4 separate regions of the Homo sapiens genome follow, and all the other regions are linked to region 1. Evidence: promoter capture Hi-C in 16 types of primary human blood cells and fetal thymus (Javierre and others, 2016). All regions are on one chromosome and are shown on one strand. The core of a region is centred on a gene start or on the middle of the fragment in contact, and the rest is flanking DNA. Distances in the headings are between cores, read along the strand shown.

Evidence for each region. Contacts are between HindIII fragments. The CHiCAGO score rates a contact against its expected background, and 5 or more counts as called.
Region 2: a contact is called between a fragment that was not itself captured here and the fragment with the promoter of COL23A1 in region 1, in 1 of 17 cell types (M2 macrophages). The highest score is 7.0, in M2 macrophages.
Region 3: a fragment that was not itself captured here is called in contact with the fragment with the promoter of COL23A1 in region 1 in 1 of 17 cell types (M2 macrophages); the score reaches 5.9 in M2 macrophages.
Region 4: a contact is called between a fragment that was not itself captured here and the fragment with the promoter of COL23A1 in region 1, in 6 of 17 cell types (M2 macrophages, M1 macrophages, M0 macrophages and 3 more). The highest score is 10.7, in M2 macrophages.

The regions. Positions count from the first base shown.
Region 1 is chr5:178,587,199-178,592,508 of GRCh38, reverse strand. COL23A1 (collagen type XXIII alpha 1 chain) reads left to right here and starts at 2,116. Exons shown (of 29, transcript NM_173465.4): 1 at 2,116-2,605. The coding sequence starts at 2,312. RefSeq lists a silencer at 1,915-2,114 and an enhancer at 2,770-3,670. The HindIII fragment of the contact is 4,652 bases long and covers 753-5,310 here.
Region 2 is chr5:178,840,124-178,845,433 of GRCh38, reverse strand. It overlaps the pseudogene LOC100129457. Among named protein-coding and RNA genes, the nearest start is that of ZNF354B, 17 kb to the left of the region's middle. The HindIII fragment of the contact is 2,533 bases long and covers 2,014-4,546 here.
Region 3 is chr5:178,437,817-178,443,126 of GRCh38, reverse strand. All of the region lies in intron 2 of COL23A1 (collagen type XXIII alpha 1 chain), which reads left to right. LOC124901148 (a long non-coding RNA gene) reads left to right here. Exons shown (of 2, transcript XR_007059080.1): 2 at 1-4,489. Among named protein-coding and RNA genes, the nearest start is that of COL23A1, 150 kb to the left of the region's middle. The HindIII fragment of the contact is 5,204 bases long and covers 649-5,310 here.
Region 4 is chr5:178,452,563-178,457,872 of GRCh38, reverse strand. All of the region lies in intron 2 of COL23A1 (collagen type XXIII alpha 1 chain), which reads left to right. The region is part of intron 1 of LOC124901148 (a long non-coding RNA gene); the gene reads left to right. Among named protein-coding and RNA genes, the nearest start is that of COL23A1, 140 kb to the left of the region's middle. The HindIII fragment of the contact is 870 bases long and covers 1,554-2,423 here.

The DNA.
Region 1 (5,310 bases), core at 867-3,366:
GTGCTGTCTACCTGTTAGGTGATGCTACACACGATAGGTTAGTGGATATTCTTTTATTCCCCCTCAAGATCTGCCCTTCTTCCTTCTGCCTCTGCTCTCTGCCCTCTAGGAGGCTGGCCCCTGCCCTGGAGGTTTGGTCATTGGAAGGCCCCAGTAGATCAGAGAGCAGGAGAGAGCAGTTGAGTATTTATTCTGTGAGCTCCCTCCCTTTCAAGCCATGGCTTTGCAGAGGCTGTTCCCCTTAACCAAGGGCCACAGGTGCTGTGGAGCAGCCCTCTTCTATAGCTCCAAGTTCCCCAGGGTTCCCAGTTAGGGATGGTAATGGCCTCCCACTGTCAATACCCGCAGAGTGCTGCTTCGGCCTCCCCTGCTGGCCCCTCTGATCTCCACTTTGTGAAGTGGCTCTACATTCAGGCTGTCTTGAGTCACCCTCTCTGAGGATGCCATCTATTCTTCCAGGACCCTAATGGACACAAGTAAGTCATTTTCTTTTTCGCCTTTTAGAATGAGTTGCAGACAGTATTTCCATCTTAATTCAGCCGCCCCAATTCCCTGATTAATCTTGTGGGCCACCTTAAATTGGGCAGTCTGGGAAGATCTTTTAGAAGCAGTGAGGTTGAGGACCTTGACCTGGAGGATGAGGAGGGGCTTGCCGTTTAACGATCTGAGAGCAGGAATGCAGGTAGTGAGGTGGTAGGCAAGGGCAGAGGCCCAGGGGCCAGTGAGCTTGGCTTTTTCAATACACAGAAGCTTCAGGAACATGGCAAACAATACATGCAGTAACATTAACATAGGTAGGTGGTGTGCAGTTTATGTGCCTGTAAGAAATGTAGTGCTGACTTGTAAGAGGGTGTTGGCCTCTTTTCAGAATGAGGCCAACTTTTCATTCTATTGGGCATACACCAGACTTTAGCACAGAGCCAAGTCTATCAACCATAACCCCCGGCCATCTCAGGGGTTCCCCTCTGAATTAAGGGAAGGAGATGGAACATGTTAGCCAGAGGCACTCAACAGTTCTAAAAGGTGAGTATCCACAGAAATGAGACAACCAGAAGATATCCAGAGTGAGAGGGAAGATGGATATAACGTTATTTTTCTTAAAAAAAAATGGTTGGGGGGTTACTCAAATCACAAAGATCTGAACTGCTGGTTTGTTGTTTCATTTAGGTATTACAGGAGTTAGCGAAAGAGTTACTTGGGACCCATTTAGGACATGAATATGCCTGGTAGGAATCTGAACCCAGCCTGACTTCCAGCAGTTCTTCCCTTTCCTGCCAAGACTTGTTAGTGCCACTCATTCTGTTCTCTGGACCCAGGCTGTACGCCACAGCCTTCTTGCCTCAGCCCTGTGATTTAAATTTGCAGCAGAATCGCAGTACAGGTTAAGTGTGGTGCATACTAGATCATAATTTTTGGCCAAGTTGTGCGTCTAATACAGAATTAAGTCATCAGTTGAACAAGACTTGAAGTTCATTTTCTGAATCTTTCCCATTCGTTATAGTCTCAGTTTTCTCAAAAGCCCTCTCCAGGCCAGAAACAGTCTTACCATTTTTGTTTCCCGCACCGAAGTCCGGCAGCTAAGAACTCGTGAGAAGATTCTAAGGGGCGTATTTCTGTTTGGCGCAATCTCGACCCTGCCTCTCTAAATGTGAGTGCGCAGAGGTCGCTTTCCGCCACGAAGCGGCGCTAATCCACCACCGAGGACAGACCCACTCAGTTTTTTGCAGGATTTGAAGTTTTGAACTTTTACAAGTGTCAGAAAGGTAATTCACAAGTTTAGAGGAATGTGCTAAGGCACGAGTGGTGGGTGCTCCAGCCAGGGGTGGGCTGCAGAAGGGGCGCGGTGTCGCCGGGCTCCCCTCCGACCTCTGGGGTCCACAGTGCGGGCTTGGGCTGGGGAAGCCTCAGAGGTGCGTGCGGGGGCGGGTGCCGGCGCCCGGGCTAGGTGAGGGCAGAGGTGCGCGCTGCGCGTGGGATCAGCCCGGCGCCGACGGGTGGCTCCGAGGAGCTCGCTCCTTCCTCGCCCCCGCCCCCTCGCCGCGCGGGGCCAGCCCGGCCGCTCCTCCCCTGGGTGGGTCCCTGCTCCTTTTCTGGCAGGGTCTATTTGCATAGAGGAAACTGCCCAAAGTGGCCGCTGTGGAGGAGCTGGCTGCGGCGAAGGGGGCGTGCGCGGCGATCCGCTGCTACCCGGAGGCTAACCCCCGCGCCCGGCGGACCTCGTGCCTCGGGCTGTCCCGCCTGCTCCTCTCGCACCCAGCCTCTGCCCCAGCAGCACCGCCCCCTCGGAGAGTCCACGCGCGACGAACGCGCCATGGGCCCAGGCGAGCGCGCCGGTGGCGGCGGCGACGCGGGGAAGGGCAATGCGGCGGGCGGCGGCGGCGGAGGGCGCTCGGCGACGACGGCCGGGTCCCGGGCGGTGAGCGCGCTGTGCCTGCTGCTCTCCGTGGGCTCGGCGGCTGCCTGCCTGCTGCTGGGTGTCCAGGCGGCCGCGCTGCAGGGCCGGGTGGCGGCGCTCGAGGAGGAGCGGGAGCTGCTGCGGCGCGCGGGGCCGCCAGGCGCCCTGGACGCCTGGGCCGAGCCGCACCTGGAGCGCCTGCTGCGGGAGGTGAGCGTCTTGGCGCGTGGCTGGGGCGGACTTGGGTGTGTCGGGTTGAGGGTGGCGGTACGCTGGGAGCCGGGGGCAGCGTGCAGGTCTCTGGGAGGAGGGTCGCCCGCCGGCTGCGTGCGCTCGGGGCCGTCCCAGAGATGGGCACGTCTGCGCCAAGGCGGAGGCAGGGGGTGCCGGCCCCAAGGGGTTTTGCGGTCTCCGCTCCGGCCTCAGGGTCCCGTGCCAGGCAGGCGGCCGCGAGAAAGGGGAAGGAGAGACCAGGGACTTTGGAGTAACAGACCTAGGGTCAGTCTCCACGGGGTGTGCGCTCGGACACGCCGCTTCCCGCCGGCGGCCAGAGTCGGGGATAAAGATGAGGCTCGTGGGAAGTATCTGGTGACTGTGACCAGTAGCACCTACTGTTCCTAACCAACGCTGGTACACCTGGAGAGGCGGTGGTCACGGCGGAGGAAAGCCTCAGACAGGCCCGAGGGCTGGGCCCCGCTGTGCTCCAGTGTGTCTCCAGCAGCTCAGGCCCCAAGACTGAGCGGTCACCGTCGCACTGAGGCCTCGGGGATGGGGGTGGGGGCGCCCACATGACTTGGTAAGATGAGAGGAAGGAGAAACAATCGGGGGTGGAGGACCTGGATTCTGGTTTCAGGCGGTGCCATCTGGGGTGTGGGCTCGCAGGACATCCGGAGTTTCCCGTCCCTTACCTGGGAATCGCGACTTCCACAGCTTACTTGAAAGCTCATATGAGGCTCTGTGACACTTCTAAGGGTTAAGATTGCTGCTGTGTGTCTTCAAAGAAAGAGCCACCTTTGGGTCCTCCAAGCCCTCACCCAGCATGTTGGTCAAAGCCTCCGCCTTTTGTGTGCGGCATGTGCGGCAGTTCCCCTCCCCACGAAACTGGACAGGCCCTGGTGGGCTGGCCAGAGCCTCCCCTGCCGAGCCTTCCTCCTTCTCCTGGGATAGATGGCTGCTCCAGACCCCAAGGTCGCTGTCCAAGGGCGCATCCTCAATTGCTGTGTGAAAACAGGCAGGGTTTCAAGGTGGAGGAGAGGGAGCACTGGCCTGTACACCCCCAATTCCCTAGACTGCCCAGCTGGGATCTTTATTAACGTATCCAGCTGTGTTTCCAATGTTGAGTTCCTTTGGATTCCAAAGGAAAGTGGGAGAAGATGACTTGCGTACCACACCTCCTTGTTCACCCCACCTGTTTCTTAGTCACTTTAATTTAAGCTAGGATCACATCTCTTCTAGCTGGGTTCTGGGTAAAATTGCTGCTTCATGAAATGATTTCCTATTTTACCCTTGAAAGGGCCTGCAGACTTAAAACTCTCTCTCAGCCCTGCTGGAAACTCCTGGCGATGGTTTCATAATTGCCGCCCATTAGCTTTTGGCAAATGCCTGGAGACCAGGGTGTTGAATTGATTTATAGAGGGCCAGTAAAGTTTCTACCTGTTAGCGCTATAAGTGTGGCTGCTCTTTCTCATAGGAGGCCTCTCTTATTTGCTAAAAATAAACCGCAAGCCCTGATTGAGTAAATCAGAAGTCCTGATACAACCATTTTACAAGGAACTACAAATTGTGTCTATTTTAGGAGGGAGGGGCATCCTGGGCAGGCAGCCACTGCTGGGAAGTGTTGATTTTTGAGTCCTGAACTTCAGCGGGAGAGACTGCAGTTGCTCTCCCAGGCTTCCCCCCTCCCGGCTGCACTGAATTTTACCTGGGTGAACTACAGTGCTTGAACAATGAGTTATTGGACAGGGTGTGTGTTCTCTCTCTCTCTCTGTTCTTGATTAGAAAGGCAAGAGAAAAATTTAGAATCCAGGGAACCCTGTATTCTGGAGAATTTGCCGTGCCATTCACACGTGGTCCTGCTCGCTAATCCCAGCTGGGTATCTGAGGCGCATGCTGTGCGTGGAGTGTAAGCTGGCTGGGTTTTCCCGCCAGTGGAGAGTCAGAGATGGTGCAGTATGAATGCAGTTGGGGCTGAACTTCTGGTTGTTTGGGTGGCCCCTGTGAGACAGCTTCTCTCTCTTAGGGTACCAGCCTGTTTCTGCTAGGAGCTATTCTTCTTGTAAATGTCACTGGATGGGAAATGTACACAGCCTGGCCGGTAACAATGAGTTCCTTGGCTGGGAGGAGAGCACTGTGGGAGGCACATACAGGGAGTGAGTAATTAACTCTAATTAGATGTATAGATACTTTTTCAAGCCATTAGATATGAAAGCCAAATAAATATTGAACTCAAAATCTCGGAAGAAAAGAACATTTGTACTTGAAGCTGTTTTTCAGTTCTGATTTGTTCTCAGTGAAGCCTCTTTTCCGTGTATGTGAGTGTGCGGGCAGCTTGTCCTACAGCAAACTTGTTTCCAGAGAACCAGAGGCAGAAACCATGTCCACATTAAAGAAAAGACATCCTTGCCAACCATACATGGCTTTAATGTCAGGGGGAAAGAAGCCAACAAAAGCCACTGTGAATATGGGACCCACTCTCTTTGTTCCCTTGGGAACAGAACTGTGAAATAACTTTTTCTGGGACCGGCTGATGTGCCCGATAATGAAGATACAGAAGCTACAAGAAAGGAATATTCATGTCAACTCATGATCATTAAAGACCCTTCCCATGGCACACAAAGGAAGAGATAAACAAGATTTCTGAGTAAGAGCCATGAACGATCGTATCTTCACTATGATGTGAAAATATTCATGCAAAA
Region 2 (5,310 bases), core at 2,031-4,530, 250 kb before region 1:
GTGTGAGCCACTATGTACCATATATAGATTTTTTTTTTTTTTTTTGAGATAGGACCTTCCTCTGTTGCCCAGGCTGGTCTTGAACTCCTGGCCTCAATCGATCCTCCCGCCCTGGCCTCCTAAAGTGCTGGGATTCTTCAATCAGCTAGGCCTAGATTCTTCAACTAAAACAAAGAAAAAAGGGTGTGACGGAGGCAAGTTATGGGGCCCTAGTGGAAGATAGAGGCTGGTTAGTCAAACGTGTTATGCAAATTCCTCTGGTTCCATCTCCAGGCTGGTAAGGGTCTACAGTCATCTCCAGTGACCAACCTTTGTCCTTCTTGGTATAGAGGGGAAGGACATCTTTGTAAATTTATGTCTTGCTTTCTGGCAGATGGGGGGAGGGGAGAGAGCTTTTCTTTTACTCATTTCTTCTCAATTGCCTTCAGCTGACAATAATCCTTATGTCAAAGCAGCCTATTTTGGGGGGGCATGTTCTGCCACCCTTCGCATGGTGACTGCAACCATGAATGTAATGGCTTTTCTGAGTTCTCTGGGTCCTCGTACTGGATCACTGAACACCCTCTTACCCAGGCTGGAGTGCAATGGTGCGATCTCGGCTCACTGCAACCTCCGCCTCCCTGATTCAAGCAATTCCTCTGCCTCAGCCTCCCGAGTAGCTGGGATTACAGGCACATGCCACCATGCCCAGCTAATTTTTTGTATCTTTAGTAGAGACGGGATGTCACCATGTTGGCCAGGCTGGTTTTGAACTCCTGACCCTATATTTTATTCTAAGAGTTATATAGTTTTAAATCACTTATATTTAGGTAACTGATCTACTTTGAGTTAATTGTTGTATGTACTATTAGGTAGGGTCCTAATTTTCTTCTCTGAATATGTTTTAAGATCGGGTTGACAGGATATGATGGATTGAATGTATATGTGTGAGAGAAGGATTCAGGGATGTCTCCATGGTGTTCGAGCACTGGGAGGATGTGATTGACTGATAGGGAAGATAACGAGCTCAGTTTGAATCTTCTGAGATGAAGATCATTGCTATCAGGAGACATTTAGCTATGAGTCTGGGGTTCTGTGTAAAAGGCTGGGCTGCAGAGTAGGGAGTACTAAGTGTACAAACAGTAAGTAAAGCCATGACACAGGGTGAAGTCACTATAAAGCTGAGAGTGAGGAGGAGAAACCAAAGGAAAAAAATTAACAGTTTAAATATAAAGACTTTGAGAACTCTAGCATTAGGAAGTCACAATCTAGGGGAGAAAGAGTGACCAGTGAGGCAGGAGAGGAATCAGGAGGGTGTGATGTCTTGGAAGGCAAGTGCAGGAGTGTTTCAAAGGGAGGGAGGGATCATCTGTGCCACATGATATGGAAGGATCAACTCAGATGAGGACTGAGAATTCACCATTGGATTTAGCAACGTGGGAGCAACTGGTGTTTTAGATTAAAACTCTTGGGGACAAGGATCAGAAGTTTGATTTGAGTGTGTTCAACAGTCAGGTGGTGGAGGGATGCTGGATACACACTGAGATTTTTGTAAAAGAAAAAGAAGATATTGGGTGGTAGTTGATGAGAAAAGTGGGTAAACTGAGGCTATTTTTTAAAAAGATGGGAGTTAATGTTTGTATAATGAAGTGAAAGAATCCAGTGGGAAGTGAAAGAGCGATGGTGCAGAAGAGAGGAGACAGTTGCTGCGACGGTATCATAGAGTAGGCTAGAAAAACGAGGTCACTGAAGACTCGGAAACCTGCTTTTTTACACGTCCCACAGATGGTTTTATGTACCAGCATTTTGGAACCACTTATAAACCAAAAACAAAAGTCTAAGGCCCCTCAACCATCTTAAGACCCCTCAGCCAGGGCTCTTAAAATGTAACCTGAGAGACTGGTTCAGGCCATCTTGGGGAGTGGGAGTCAGACATGCCTCTACACCCCTCCAGCATTAACATCAACACAGACATTAAGTCTGGTAAGAAATATTTTGCAACCTATTCTCTCTGAAGCCTGCTAGCTGAAAGCTTCATCTGCATGGTAAACCTTTGGTCTCCACAACCTCTCATCTTAACCCAGACATTTCTTTCTGTTTGATCCCAGGTCTTTAGACAAACTCAACCAATTGTTAACCTCCGCCTCCTGGATTCAAGTGATTCTCCTGCCTCAGCCTCCCGAGTGGGTGGGATTACAGGCTCCTGCCAACACGCCTGGCTATTTTTTTGTATTTTTTTTTAGGAGAGAAGGAGTTTCACTATGTTGGCCAGGCTGTTCTCAAACTCCTGACCTCGTGATCCACTCACCTTGGCCTCCCAAAGTGCTGGGATTACAGGCGTGAGCCACCGCGCCCAGCCTATCCCAGGAATTTAAATATTTATTTACTCCAACCATTTTCTTACATTTCTAATTATCTTATAAATATTTACACCTATGGATTCCATATGCTTATTATTATTGTATAGATAGACACAATTTATTTTCTGAAAATTACTACTACTAGTACCAGCAGAATGTGGTAGATGCATAGATGTGCTGCCTGGACCCTCCTTGGGGAGGACTTGCTGTCCAGTTGTGGGAGTTTGTTTAGAGCCTGGCTGGCTGCTTCAGGGTATGCCTGAGCCAAAGAGAGCACCCCCAGCGTTCAGGGCCTTCCCTGGGGAGCCCCCTCAGGTGCCTGAGGCCTGGGTATAAAGATCTGGCCATCTCTTCTTGGCCCAGCCAACTCTGAGGGGGCGATGCTTGTTCTGGCATCCTGGCTGGCTGGCAGAGGTTTTGCTGAGCCTGCAACGGTTTTGACTTCTGCCCAAGCCTGTTTCTGCTTGCTTTTTTCATGGGTTTATCCCTAGTAGGGTCCCTTGTACGCCTCAGGCCCTCCACTGCCTGCTCTGGATCACCTGGCCTACGACACAGAGTGCACATATTATTTCAAACCCTCATTTTACTTAATTTACCAATATTTTGTAAAGCCATTTCAATGACAAAATAGTCGTTTTACTACTTGAATAAGGATCTTAATGTGTTTAAACAGTTGCGTATTTTCTTAATTTTGCTACGATAACGAATGTTTCTGTTTAATTCTTTTTTACTACTCCTTTTTACACTTTATACAGAATCACAAGTCTTTTTCTGGGGTTGGGGGGTGGCAGTGTACGTGTGCAGGGGTTTGGAAACTTTGTGGCTTGGCCATGGATCTCATGGCCTGAGAGCCTCCTTAGTTTCACGGATGAGATTGGCCCTTGTGGAGTTCGAGTCCAACCCAGAACAAGGAACCCTGGGTCTCCTCCAAGTGCTGCAGCAAGCTGGCCTGGGGTCCCCCAAAAGGCAACCAGAGTCACGCCCAGGATCACCCAGTCTGCAGCAGGGTGCAAAGGTTTGGGGGTCCCCCACAAAGGCAGCCAGAGCCAAGCCCAGGGTCCCCCCAGCATCAGCAAGATCTACACCTTATACTATAAGACTCTGTATATACTTTATACAGTCTTACAAATAAATTCCTACAAGTGGAATAGCTAGATCGAAGTGTATGCATTTGGAGAAAGACTTTTTTTTTTGACACATGACACATTTTGCTTGTTTACTATGTTTTCTCTCCATCAGAATGAAAGCTCATTGAGGGGAGGGACTTTGGTCTATTGTCTGTATTCCCTGGTGACTCGAATTGTACCTGTATGCAACAGACACTCAATAAATATTTTCTTTGTAGACTGGGTAGACATGAGTTAGATCTTTGATGCTTCTGAGGAGTCTGGTTTGGGCAAGAGGGTGCTAGGGAGAAACTGCTCCCTGCAATCTCCCCATTTTCATCTTTCAGTGTTGAAAAGTGGGGAGGAGGTGGATTCAGTTTGCTCGAAGACAGAGCCAGTGGGGCGCAGAGGTGCTCAGAGCAGCCTTTGGGAAAGTGTAGGGGAAGCTGGATTCCTGACTGCCAGCCTTTGGGCCTGGGTTGGACCTAGGACCCTGAGACAGGACATACAACATCTGTGGGAGTCACCTGCTAGTCGCCAGCTCACTGAGGAACCGAAGAATATACTGTTCTTGGTCTGAAGGCACTTGGAGAAGGAGAGGAAGAAGGGAGGGGGCTGAATCTCTTCTCACCCCCATCTCTGCCAGATCCCAGACCCCCCTGGGCCTCTGTCCCACACAGACCAGCCTAAAAGACGTCAAAGGCCCAGGAGCCCTGGCCAGGGTGGGGGTCACCATTTTGCAGCCATAGGTTTGGAGTGCTGACTCCAGCAGAGGCATCTGGCCAGTGGCTTGAGGTGCTGTGTCTGACATGGTTGCTGGCCATAGAGGGCCTCGGGGCCGTCCTGAGCTCAGACCTTGCCTGCTGGCTGCTGGGATGGCTGCTTCTGCAGCAGGGGCAGGGTGTCCCGCTTCTCAGTGGAGCACAGCTGCTGTGTCCTCACCAGCTTGAGCTTGGTGGGGCTTTGGATCACTTGGACAATCTCTGCCTTCCACTCGTTCTATAGGTGATGTTTCAGGTTCTTGGGCCCAGCGCTGTTTCTTCTCCTGGCAGTGCCTTTCCTTCTCCTCCTCCAGGTTAGGGGCAGAATCCTTGGCAAGCTTCCTTTCCTGCTGTTCCTTCATCTTCCACTGCCAGGATGTGTGCAGGGGCTTGTCCTGAACCATCTGGGATAACTTTTTCTTGCAGTAGTCCTTCCACATCCTCCCGCAATGTGGGCTTCCCCTTCTGGATTATAGGAAACTCCTCCTCCTCCTCCTTCGACTTCTTGGATACTGGAGCCTGGACTGAAGAACCTTTTTCCTTCTTTGCCCCATGGCCGCCTGTTACCTCTCCCCAGCTAGAGGCAGCTTGCTTGGCTCCTGCTGACCCCAGCAGGGAGCCAGGTGCCTTGGGTGTCAGCTCCCGTACTGGCCGTGACGGCTCTGAACTCGGCACCTGCTGACTGGGGTAAGGCTCTGGTGATCCTGGGCCCGGGTATAGGTGCTCATGCCACCCCCACCCCCCGAGTCAGCTCCTCTGGACTCTGGGCCCACTCGGAGGCTGGTTCTCCCTGGCCCTGAGAACACCGTGGTGCCTCCTCACTTGGCTTTGGCTGACATTGTGGGGATTTGGAGCTAGACTCTGGCTGTCTTTGAGGTGACTCCAGGTGTAGATCTTGCTGATGCTCGGGGGACCCTGGGCTTGGCTCTGGCTGCCTTTGTGGGGGACCCCCAAACCTTTGCACCCTGCTGCAGACTGGGTGATCCTGGGCTTGTCTCTGGCTACCTTTGGGGGGACCCCAGGCCAGCTTGCTGCAACACTTGGAGAAGACCCAGGCTTCCTTGTTTCTTCTGGGTTGGACTCAAACTCCACAAGGGCCAATCT
Region 3 (5,310 bases), core at 2,001-4,500, 150 kb after region 1:
GACGTGCAGGTGCTTCCTCCCACTGAGGACTGCAGGCCACAGAGCTCAAATGAAGGCAGTGGGACAGCGAGACCCCACTGGGACCACACAGATGCACAAGCTGCTTCAAACCTTTCAGGGCCCTTAAATTCCCAGCAACTAAAAGGAAACAGGCCGCCTGGGGTGCTGGAAACCGCCGGCCTGGAGTCAGCCGAAGGTTCGGTGAGACCGTGGGAGGCCACCCTTTGGTGGCTCATTCTCCCCTGCTTGTGAAATAGGGATATGGGAGGGGGGCAGAACAGACCACGGGTTCCCAAGCTGGGCTCTGGAGAGTTCTAAGGGTGGCAGAGGCCCTTCCCCAGCAGGGGTGGCGAGGGGGAGTACAGCAGGTCAGGTCTTGGCGCCTGTGCTCCCTCCAGCCAGAGCTGTTCCACTCCGATTCTTCTCTAGCCTGGCCTCTCCGAGATGCCTTCTGTTTAAAGAGCAGCTTCTGCTGCTTTAAAGTAAGATTTTAATCATCAGGGGACTGAGCGATTTGTGAGGCCCCTTTGGCGCCCTGGGTTTCCCTGAGTCAGCAGGAAGCACGCTGGTGCTCCCCGAATGGCAGACTGGGACCCCAGCTGTCAGGGAGGGAGACGCTCGGGCCTATCATGTTAGATTCATAAAGCTTGCACTCTGGGAAATTGCTTTTGACATGCTCAGGGGTAAAACGTTTCTCAAAAGAAGCTCCACATAATTTAAATGATGACATTTTAAATCATGTGGAGATGGCGGTGATCTTTAAAAAATGTTCCCATCTCAATTTGCAAACCTGTTTGGACAAACCAGTCAAAGGCAATTTTCCTCATGGAATTACCAGCAAACAGAACCTTTCATAAGACTTCTGTGCCTCAGACAGGCCTCTCCCTCTTTCCTGACCACCCACCCATCCCAGCTTTCCTAAGACAAAGAGAGAGAGATGGAGTTCAGACTGTTTTTTTTTTAATCATCTGGGGACCTTGGCCAAGGGGAAGAGGAGAAAGCAGGGGCCAGGCTCGGGGTCTGACCAGGCTGCAGGACTCGGCGTGCGTGGTTTCTCAGTTGGACGTCCCAGAGGGCCAGGCCCGTGGGTGGGGACTCAGGTTGAAAATCAAAGCCTTGGCCAAACAGATGAGGATTTGGGGCAGGGAAACTGAGGCATGAGCCACTGGACCCTCTGCCTGGTCATGCTTAGGCTATGAAGTACACGGTTTCTTCCACAAAACCCCAGTCCTCCTGTTATTGATGACTTGGGGCCCACAGGTTTCCTTCATTGCTGCCATCAGGTTGGGGTTGGTGGGATTCTGAGATCTGGGCAAATGGCACAGAATGTTTAGCCCAAAGACAAGCAGATGAGGTTTGTGGTAGAGCCAAATGCTGATTCTGCCCACCCCGCGTCATCACCCCGCGTCGTCACCCCGTGTCGTCTGTTAGGGGTTCCTTGACTATTTTGTTTGTTTCAAAAGCATGTTTGTGTTTGTCTTTCTCCAAACATCAGGGTGAAATGGGATCTTAAGAACCATTAAGGCAGCCCTTTGAAACTCTAGCCCCGCATCCCCCCATCTCTGTCTTTATAATTTGGGGTCAGCTTCATCAGCAAGCCCCTGTGCGCCTGTACCGAGAGGCCTTGAATTTGGTTTCCGGCTCTGCAGTTGCCCTCTAAAATTCTCAATAGTGTGTGAACAGGGTCCCACACTTTGATTTTGCAAATTACGCAGCCTGTCCCATGTGGAGTTTTAGATTTGAATTATTATTTTATTAGTATTTTTAGGCTATATATCTTCACTCTAAAAAATGCACGTGTATGTATTAGTTTTATAAGTGAGATTTACAGCAGTCATTGAACTTCTTGCAGAGCTTTGCTGCCAGTCTTAACTGTAGGGTGTGGTCTGTCAGCCAACAAACAGCTTTTTAAAGAATGTTTGCATGTTGTGTGAGAGGGAAAAAAATACGACACAAAGGGCCTTTAATCAACATGCTTGCAAAGCCACTCTCACAGAGTAGACGTCTTATTGGGTAATTTCTGGGTCCCAAGCCCCATGCTGACCACAAGGATACAGAGAGAAACAGAGCACAGCCCCTGCCCTCAAGGAGTGCCTTGTCTAGTTGAAATCTGTTTCGTAACTTTCTAAACCTCAAGCCACTCTAAGAAATATGCAACCCAGAATTCAGTACACATAGAGATAATACACACATAGAAAGATGAAACAGTAGGCCGGGCATGGTGGCTCATGCATGTAATCCCTACTTTTTGGGAGGCCAAGTAGGGTGGATCACCTGAGGTCAGGAGTCCGAGACCGGCCTGGCCAACATCATGAAGCCCCATCTCTACTAAAAATATAAAAAATTAGCTGGGCATGGTGGCGGGCACCTGTAATCTTAGCTGCTCAGGAAGCTGAGGCAAGAGAATCGCTTGAACCTGGGAGGCAGAGGTTACAGTGAGCCGAGATCTCACCACTGCACTCCAGTCTGGGCAACAAGAGTGAAACTCCATCTCAGAAAAAAAAAAAAAAGAAAGATGAAAACAGTCATCTCATGAAATAAGGTACTTACTGTATACACCGCATTCTCTTTTCTATTGTATTTCATTTTTTAAAATACTGGTTAGAGCACAGTTGATTTCACAACCCATTAGTGTGAGTTTTTAAAGCACTGCTCTAATGAGAGAGATTGATTTTTGCTAAGCATTATCCTAGCGGTGGTGCAGACTTCCAGAGGAAGCGGCATTTGCCCAGAGTGTTGAAGGATGAGATGGAGCTTGCGGTGGAGAAGCTGGCGGTGGTTATGAGGTGAATTCCAGAGGGGGTCATGAGCCTGGAGAGAGTTCCACGGGGCTTGGGTCCTGGGGAGTTGGTCCCGGAAAGGCAAATCTGCAGATGGTGGAGCACATTGGGTGTCCAGCAAGATGCTGTACTCTCTCCTGTGTGAGCCATAGGAAGTGGTTTGTTTTTTTAACAGCTTTATTTGAAATATACCATAAAATTCACCTATTGTAAGTGGACAGGGCCATGATTTTTAGTAAATGTATGGAGTTGTCCAACCACCATCCAGTTTTAGAACATCTCCATCACCCCAAAAAGCGCCCTGGTGCCCATGTCCGTCAATCCCCGTTCCTTCCCCCAGCCCCAGGCAACCACTGATCTGTTTTCTGTCTCTGCAGATTTGTCCTTTCTAGAAACCGTGTACACATGGACTCCTACAATCCAGTCCTTTGTGTCTGGCTTCTGTCACTCAGCGTCGCATTTCTGGGGCTCATCCATGTTGTAGCATGTAGTGGTATTCCATTGATTGGCTACACTGTAGTTTCTCCATTTGCCAGATGATGGATGCTTGGATTGTTTCCAGTTTGGGGCTATTTTGAAGAACGCTTCTATGAGCATTTGCATCTGAGTTGTATGGACGTATGTTTTCATTTCTCCCGGGGAGATCCTAGGAGCGGAGTTGCTGCACTGCATGGTGAACGTATGTTTAACTCTTTAAGAAACTGCCTCGCTGACTTCTGAAGCAGCTGCACCGTGGCGTGTTCCCACCAGCAGCTTATCTCGTGTCTTCACATCTGCTGGAGGATTTGAGCAGAGGAGAGATGTGATGAGACTTGCTCTTCAGAAGATTCCTCCAGCTGCCGGGTGAGGGTCACTGAGAGGGAAAGGAAGAGGCAGGAGGGAGAAGTCTGGGTCCTAGGCTAAAGCTCCGGCTCTGGGTGGACCAGAGACAAGGAGCTGGAGTCCAGGGATGTGTTCAACAGGGTCTGGCATGGAAGGAGCAGGAGCCACAGAGACTTTGGTAACTGGCTCAGCCTCAATCAGCAAGTGGCTGAGAGAGAAAAGATGGAGGTGACTTGGGAGCAAGACTTCCATCTGGACTGCGATGATGGTGCCGGGGCCTCTGGCTCTTGCCTGTCCATGCATCATGCATGGCCAGATCAGCAGTCACATCCCTTCAGAAGGTTCCCACATCCTGTAAGGGGAGTGGCTCCCAGTCCTGGCTGCCCTTTTGAATCACCTGGAAAACTTTAAAATCTGCTGGCTGGGTCCTGATGTAACTGATCTGCGCACAGCCTGGGCATGGAGAGGTTCAAGCTCCCAGGTGATTTGAATGCACACTGGGCTGAGTCAAGCTCTCAGGCGCAGGTGCACACTGGGAGCTCCAGGGGAGTTTTACAAACTACTAAAGTGCTGAGTCCCACCCAGAGCTTTTGGTGCAGTTGGGACAGGGGGAAGCCTGTGCACTAGGAGTTGTAACCTTTCCCCGGGTGATTATAACGCGCAGCCACGTTTGGGGACTGCTGCTTGAAGGCAACTTGTTTGGACCCAAGAGTCAGTTCTGAGCAGATGCTTCTAATGCTAGCATTTCCTAAAAGAGTGTTCTTGATTCTCTCGCTCTTTATAAGTAGACCCAGAAATCTTTTTTTTTTCCTTCTCAATGTACAGATTATTTTTCTGAAGCATTTTATAGTACATGTTGCTAAAAAATAAAACCAGATTCCACTGCACGTGTTCTGTAAACCCATCTGGTTTACATAAAATATTTACAAATGCAGATACAGAGGAATTTCAAGGTATTTTTGGGTAAGGAACCAGCATGTTAGCTGTGTGTTGCCTGCTCTGTGGTCTCCATAGCATATGATACATAAACACCAGTCAGATACAGGGATGAACTGCGTTCCTACAGGTAAAGCGGTTTATTTCACCAGGACCCCAGATCTGGCTGGAAAGCTCACTTATGTTTACTTTTCTTGCCCAGATATTTTCAGATAGTAAATTTAAATAAACAATATGATAGCTCCTACATACCTTTTTTTCCCCCTCCAGGTGTTTGGCATTCTTGCTCATGTAACCCAAGTATCTTTTAACTCTTAAAGCAGTAACTTGAGGAGGGGCCAGAGCTGTGCTTTCAGCTTGATATTGTAAAGTTGGACTGTGTTACCAAGTGCCCTGGTGTCTTCAGTTCTCTAGGTGCTGTCTGTGTTCTTCACACTTAATCCCTTAATTCTTTGGTTTGGACCACAGCAGAGGATCTGAGGATGGGGACAGGTGCCACAGAGGAGCTGTGCCCCTGCACATCTTTGGCCCCAGGTCCTCTTCCAGGGAATTAAGACACATTAGCTGAGATTTTTTTGAGGCCTAAGCAGCAGCCCTGCCTAAACCTCAAGTTTAATCACTGTGGTGGTCAGGGGCCTCTGAGCCCATGGTGGGCACTCAGACCAGGCATGAGCAGCTCAGCCCAGCCGAGGCTGACCCCACATCCCACCTCCCCCCAGGCCCCTTGCTGGTTGGGGTCCTGGGTCCCGTCCCACAAGCACCCTCCAGGACT
Region 4 (5,310 bases), core at 739-3,238, 130 kb after region 1:
TTAAGTGCATGCTGCTGTTTTCAGTTTAAATTCAAGGCTACCTAGTTTTACTTAACATGATCTTTTACTCTGGCTGAAAATCCTGCCTCTCAGCAGCAGCACCTAACTCACTTGCTTTATTCCATGATACACATGCAGCAGTCTGAGGATGATAATCACAGCACTGCCTCCAACAATCTGTGAAATTGTGTTACCAAACGCAATTTAAGTGGCTTTTGGTTTTGTTTGGGCACTTCTTTTTGTTATTAAGGAAAACCTTTTTAATGGGGGCATAATATTCCATATTTGAAGTAAAATTTTTTTCTACTTTTGAACATTAAGATTACATTGAAATTTTTGCTATTATAAAGAACTCTGTGGCCGGGCGTAGTGGTTCGTGCCTGTAATCCTAGCACTTTGGGAGGCCGAGATGGGCGGATCACTTGAGGTCAGGGGTTCGAAACCAGCCTGGCCAACATGGCAAAACCCCGTCTCTACTAAAAATACAAAAAATTAGCCGGGCGTGGTGGCGGGCACTTGTAGTCCCAGCTACTCGGGAGGCTGAGGCAGGAGAATTGCTTGAACCTGGGAGGCAGGGGCTGCAGTGAGCCGAGATTGTGCCACTGCACTCCAGCCTGGGCGACAGAGTGAAACTCTGTCTCAAAAGAAAAAAGAAAAAAAGAATGATGTGATAAACATCTTCACCTTTGACTTTTATTTCTGTTCAATCTTTTAGTCCAGACTCTTAGACTGAAGTGAGATAGTGAAAGAGAGTAGATGTGTTTAAGTGCCTCAGACACGTGGCCCACACCTTTTTTGGAACAAGGTGTGCATGGAAGGGCCTGTATCCCTGCACCATGATTAACATTTTTCATTAACTGTAATAGTAATGAATGGTTCTTTACCAAACAAACCCAAAACAGGGTGTGTTGTTTTATCTCTGCATGTTTACATTATCAGCCATAGGCTTGTTGGACGGTTATAGTTCCATTTTGAATTGTCTGTGGAGGGGAAATCAGGGAATTTTCTTGCTTTTCTTACTGATTTGCAAGACATTTTTACTATCTTAAGAAAAACAATCCTTCGTTACGTTTGTTGCAAAAATTTTTCTCACTTTGTCACTTGCCTTTCAGTTTTTATCATTTTTTTTTCTAGTACAATTTTAAAACTTTAAACTCTGGAGTTTGTTTATTTTGAGATGGAGTTTCGCTCTTGTTGCCCAGGCTGGAGTGCAATGGTGCGATCTCGGCTCACCGCAACCTCCACCTCCCGGGTTCAAGCAATTCTCCTGCCTCAGCCTCCTGAGTAGCTGGGATTACAGGCATTCGCCACCACGCCCAGCTAATTTTGTATTTTTAGTAGAGACGGGCTTTCTGCATGTTGGTCAGGCTGGTCTCGAACTCCCGACCTCAGGTGATCCGCCCAGCTCAGCCTCTCAAAGTGCTGGGATTACAGGCGTGAGCCACCATGCCCGGCCAAACTCTCGAGTTTTTTGACTGTTTCTCTCATTGTCCAGTCCCATCTGATATCGGTTACATGTTTCGCTGTATTTCCTTCTGGTTTAATATAAAGCTTCATTTATTTTTTCCATTTTTATTGTTTATTCCCTCACTACAAAAGTAATCCATGTTTGCCATGGAATTATAGAAGCCTAGGGAAGTATAGAAGACTTCATTTATTTTTACGTATAACTCTTTGAAAATCTGTAACTTATTATGGTGGCAAGGTTGAGGGAAGGATATGACTTGAGGATCTTCCATATAACTGGTTGTTCTAACACCATCTGCAGAACAATCTGTGTTTCTCTCCTATTGTACCCGAAATTGTTTGGTATATGAGAGTCTTTTCAAAATCTGCACCAAGTGCCCATTTGTTTCAATTCATGTGGTTATGTAATCCACCTTAACAACTCAAGTCCCTTTCTTGTTATTTTTCCTTTTCAAAAAATTGTCTTAGCTACTCTTGCCTGTTTATTCTTCGAAATACACCTGAGAATTATTCATTAAGTTAAACCATCTCGGTGGTCTATTGATTGGAATGGCCTTAGGTGGAGTCTGGCTTCCTCCTGATGGGCGGGCGAGCTGAGGGAGCCAGTGTCAGACATAGGGCCACTGTAGAGGGCTGGTCCTCCGCTCTGACCTCCTCGTGGAGCCTGGTGGGATGGGTGGGCAGGGGATAGGTGCCAGCTCTCGGCCTTGAGGTGCGGTCCGTCCGCGTGGCAGAGAGGAAACACACAGAAGCGATGGCGGAGATGCCAGGGAGGGCCGGTGTCATGCCTGGATGTGGAGGCTGATGCAGGGGGACTCCCGTGATTCTCGCTTGGTCAGCTGGGTGGATGGTGCTTCCCAGGCTGAGATTCTGGGGTTCTGTGGCCTGAGAGCTGCCTTATTCATGCAGGTGGCCAGGTGTTGTTATTACTCTCTTTACACAGGAGGACCTAAGCTTACTTAGTTGAGTGACTTGCCCTGGCTGCAGCCCCCCTGGGGTTCCACCCTGCTGTGTCAGCCGATGCCAGGGTCAGGCGGGCAGCCCTCCCATGCTGGTGCCTGTGGCCTGGCCCCCAGCTGTCACTCTGCACCAGGACTCCTCCCAAACGGGTTGGAAAGGTTTAGGGCGGGCCCACGGGCAGGCCCGTGCGTGACTTTTCACGCCTTCATCGGTGACCCAGTCAGCGACTGCTCAGTGGTACGGGTTGAACTGTGTCCCCCCCGGAAAGATTGCAGGAGTTCCTCTGAATGTGACCTTATTTGGAAATAGGGTCTTTTGCAGATGTAATGAGTTAAATGAAGTCAGACTGGAGGGGAGCAGGTCCTTAATCCAACCTGACAAGACTGCGTGGCCACCGTTGTGTGCACGTCACGTGCATGGGGAGAAGCAGAGAGGAGCGGCCCAGCTGCTGGCCAAGGACACCAAGGATGGCAGGCGCCTCCACAGGCCGGGAAGGGGATGGAGCAGTCCTAGCCAGGGGCTCAGAGGGAGCAGGCCCAGCCGACACCTTGACTCCGGCTTCCAGCCTCCAGAACTGAGAGAGAATGAGTTCCTGCCGTTTAACCCACACCATTTGTGGTATTTTTTAACAGCCACGGGAAACTAATACACGCAATAAAGGATTAATGAACACGCCTGCACACCGGCGTGGAATTCACTCTTCAGCCACTCTGGCAGGCCTTCCTGGTTGCACAGGAGTGAGGATGTGGTCTCCAGGGGCCTGTGGTTATCTTGTGTGTTGGGAGATAGGGAAGGGAATCCCGGGAGTCACTGCTGGGAGCCTGCTCTTCTGAGTCTCATAATTCTGCCCAAAGGTTGTGATTATGCCCATTTCACAGGCGAGGCAACTGAGGCCCACAGATGTTAAATGCCTTGCCAGGAGACTGCAGGCTTTTCCTCCTTTCTGGTCACCCCAAGCCAAGCCAGGCCTGCCCCCACCCACCTGGCATCACCTCACTGGAGAGCAATGCACATCCTGTTCCTGGAGGCATGTTTTTAGCTGACAGCACGCAGCCTGCAGGCCTAGGTTATCTGCACTATTTGATAACCATAGAGAAAGTGACCATTTGTTCACTTTTTGATCTGAGTTGCTTTTCATAGGCTTTTAAATTTCAAAACGTTTGAATGAAGTACTCTATGAGCTTTTTCATTTCATGTCAGCAATTCTCAAACATCGCCTGGCTTTGTTAACCTGGTCCTTGAGGTAAGATTGAGGGTGGGTGGGCAGGGTATTTTAGAAAACAGCCCTTTTAACTTCATCTGTGATCACTTTTCAGGGCTGTTGCTTAACTGTCCATATGTTGTGTTTCTGTGTAATTGTTTCTGTGCTCCACCGTATGAAGACGGACAGAGGGCTTGCAAAGACAAAAATAAATACGTCTCTTTTTTTTAAGAGTGTGATATTTAAACTTTTTCTATAAAATGGTTTTATCTTACAAACTTTGGCCACAATATCTATACCCCTGCTCCTAGACCAAAGGCCCTGAAAAACTAGGAACTATTTTTTTCTTTTATGTTAATATCTCTGGTCTGGCACAGGCATGGCATGGAGTAGGTTTTGAGAGTCAGTATGGAATCGTGGTGAGAAGTGAGACAGACTGCCTGGGTTTGAATTCCTCGTCTGCTACTGCTACTGAAAAAGTGTGTGACTGTGAACGAGTCGTTTCACCTGTCTGTGGAATGGGGAGAAGAGCATCCTCATCTTTGCCCTCATCTGCATTGTGGAGAGCTGGTTGACTGAAGGAACCAATGAATTGAATCCACAGAAGTCTACTGTGGGCCAATCTTAAGAACCCTCCTAGCTCTGTACTTTGGAAGTCTGTGAAAGTGCAAACTTTTAAATTAAGGGGTAGATTCCTTGGTCAGCTGAAGCGTGGGTGCTTCAGGATGAATCCTGCAGTTAACAGAATTGAGGGAAATTCCAAACCCGCATGGCCAGTCTCCTCCCAGCCCTTACAACAGCACCACAGGCACGGGAATGACTCAGAAAGTGAGTGGCTAGTGAGACAAGAAGAAAGGGTGCTCCATCATGCTCTTTCTTCTAATAGCTGGAAGAACATGATACCCCCAGGTCATCTCTTCACGGGGCTAGAGTAGGCTGCACTGTGTATGCTGGTTTCCAGATGTCCTGTTCTCTTCCCCACTGAACACTAGAGCTTTGGTTTCATGCAGTGTCCCTCCAGAGATAATGTTGTGTGTGTGTCTCTTGTTCTCCTTTTTTACAACACACAACATACGGCACTTACTGTTCTGCACCTTGTTTCTTTCACTTAACAGCATGTCATGGAGATCCTTTCCCTGTGTCTCTAAAGAGCTTCTTCATTGGTTTTTCTCGCCGTGTGGGATTCCTTGGCATGGATGTGCCCTGGTTTCTTTAACCAGACCTCTGCTCATGGGCATTCCAGTTGTGTCCACTCTTTTGCCATCACAGACAATATCATGGAATTAATGTATATATCCATTATTTCCTGTACATGTAGGTACACATATCTGATTAGGTCCTAGTGGAAATCGTGGGTCAATTAGCAGTTCTGATTTTGACGGACATTGACAAATTGTTTATTATCAAGGTTCTATTTTATGCTCCTGGTGCACCATCCCCTCACCTCCATGTATTAACAGGTATTGGATCTGGGCCATTCTTTTGGGTAAAAAATTGTGTCTTGGAGAAGTTTCAATTTGCAGTGCACTTATTATGAGTGTGGTTGAACCTCTTTCCCTTTTCTGTAAATTGTTTGATCATAGCTTTTGTTTCTGTTGCTGGTTTTTAAAGCAATTTGTCGGCACTCCTTATGTATTACAGAAATAAGCTCTGTTATGAATGAATGGAGTGTATTTCTTCCC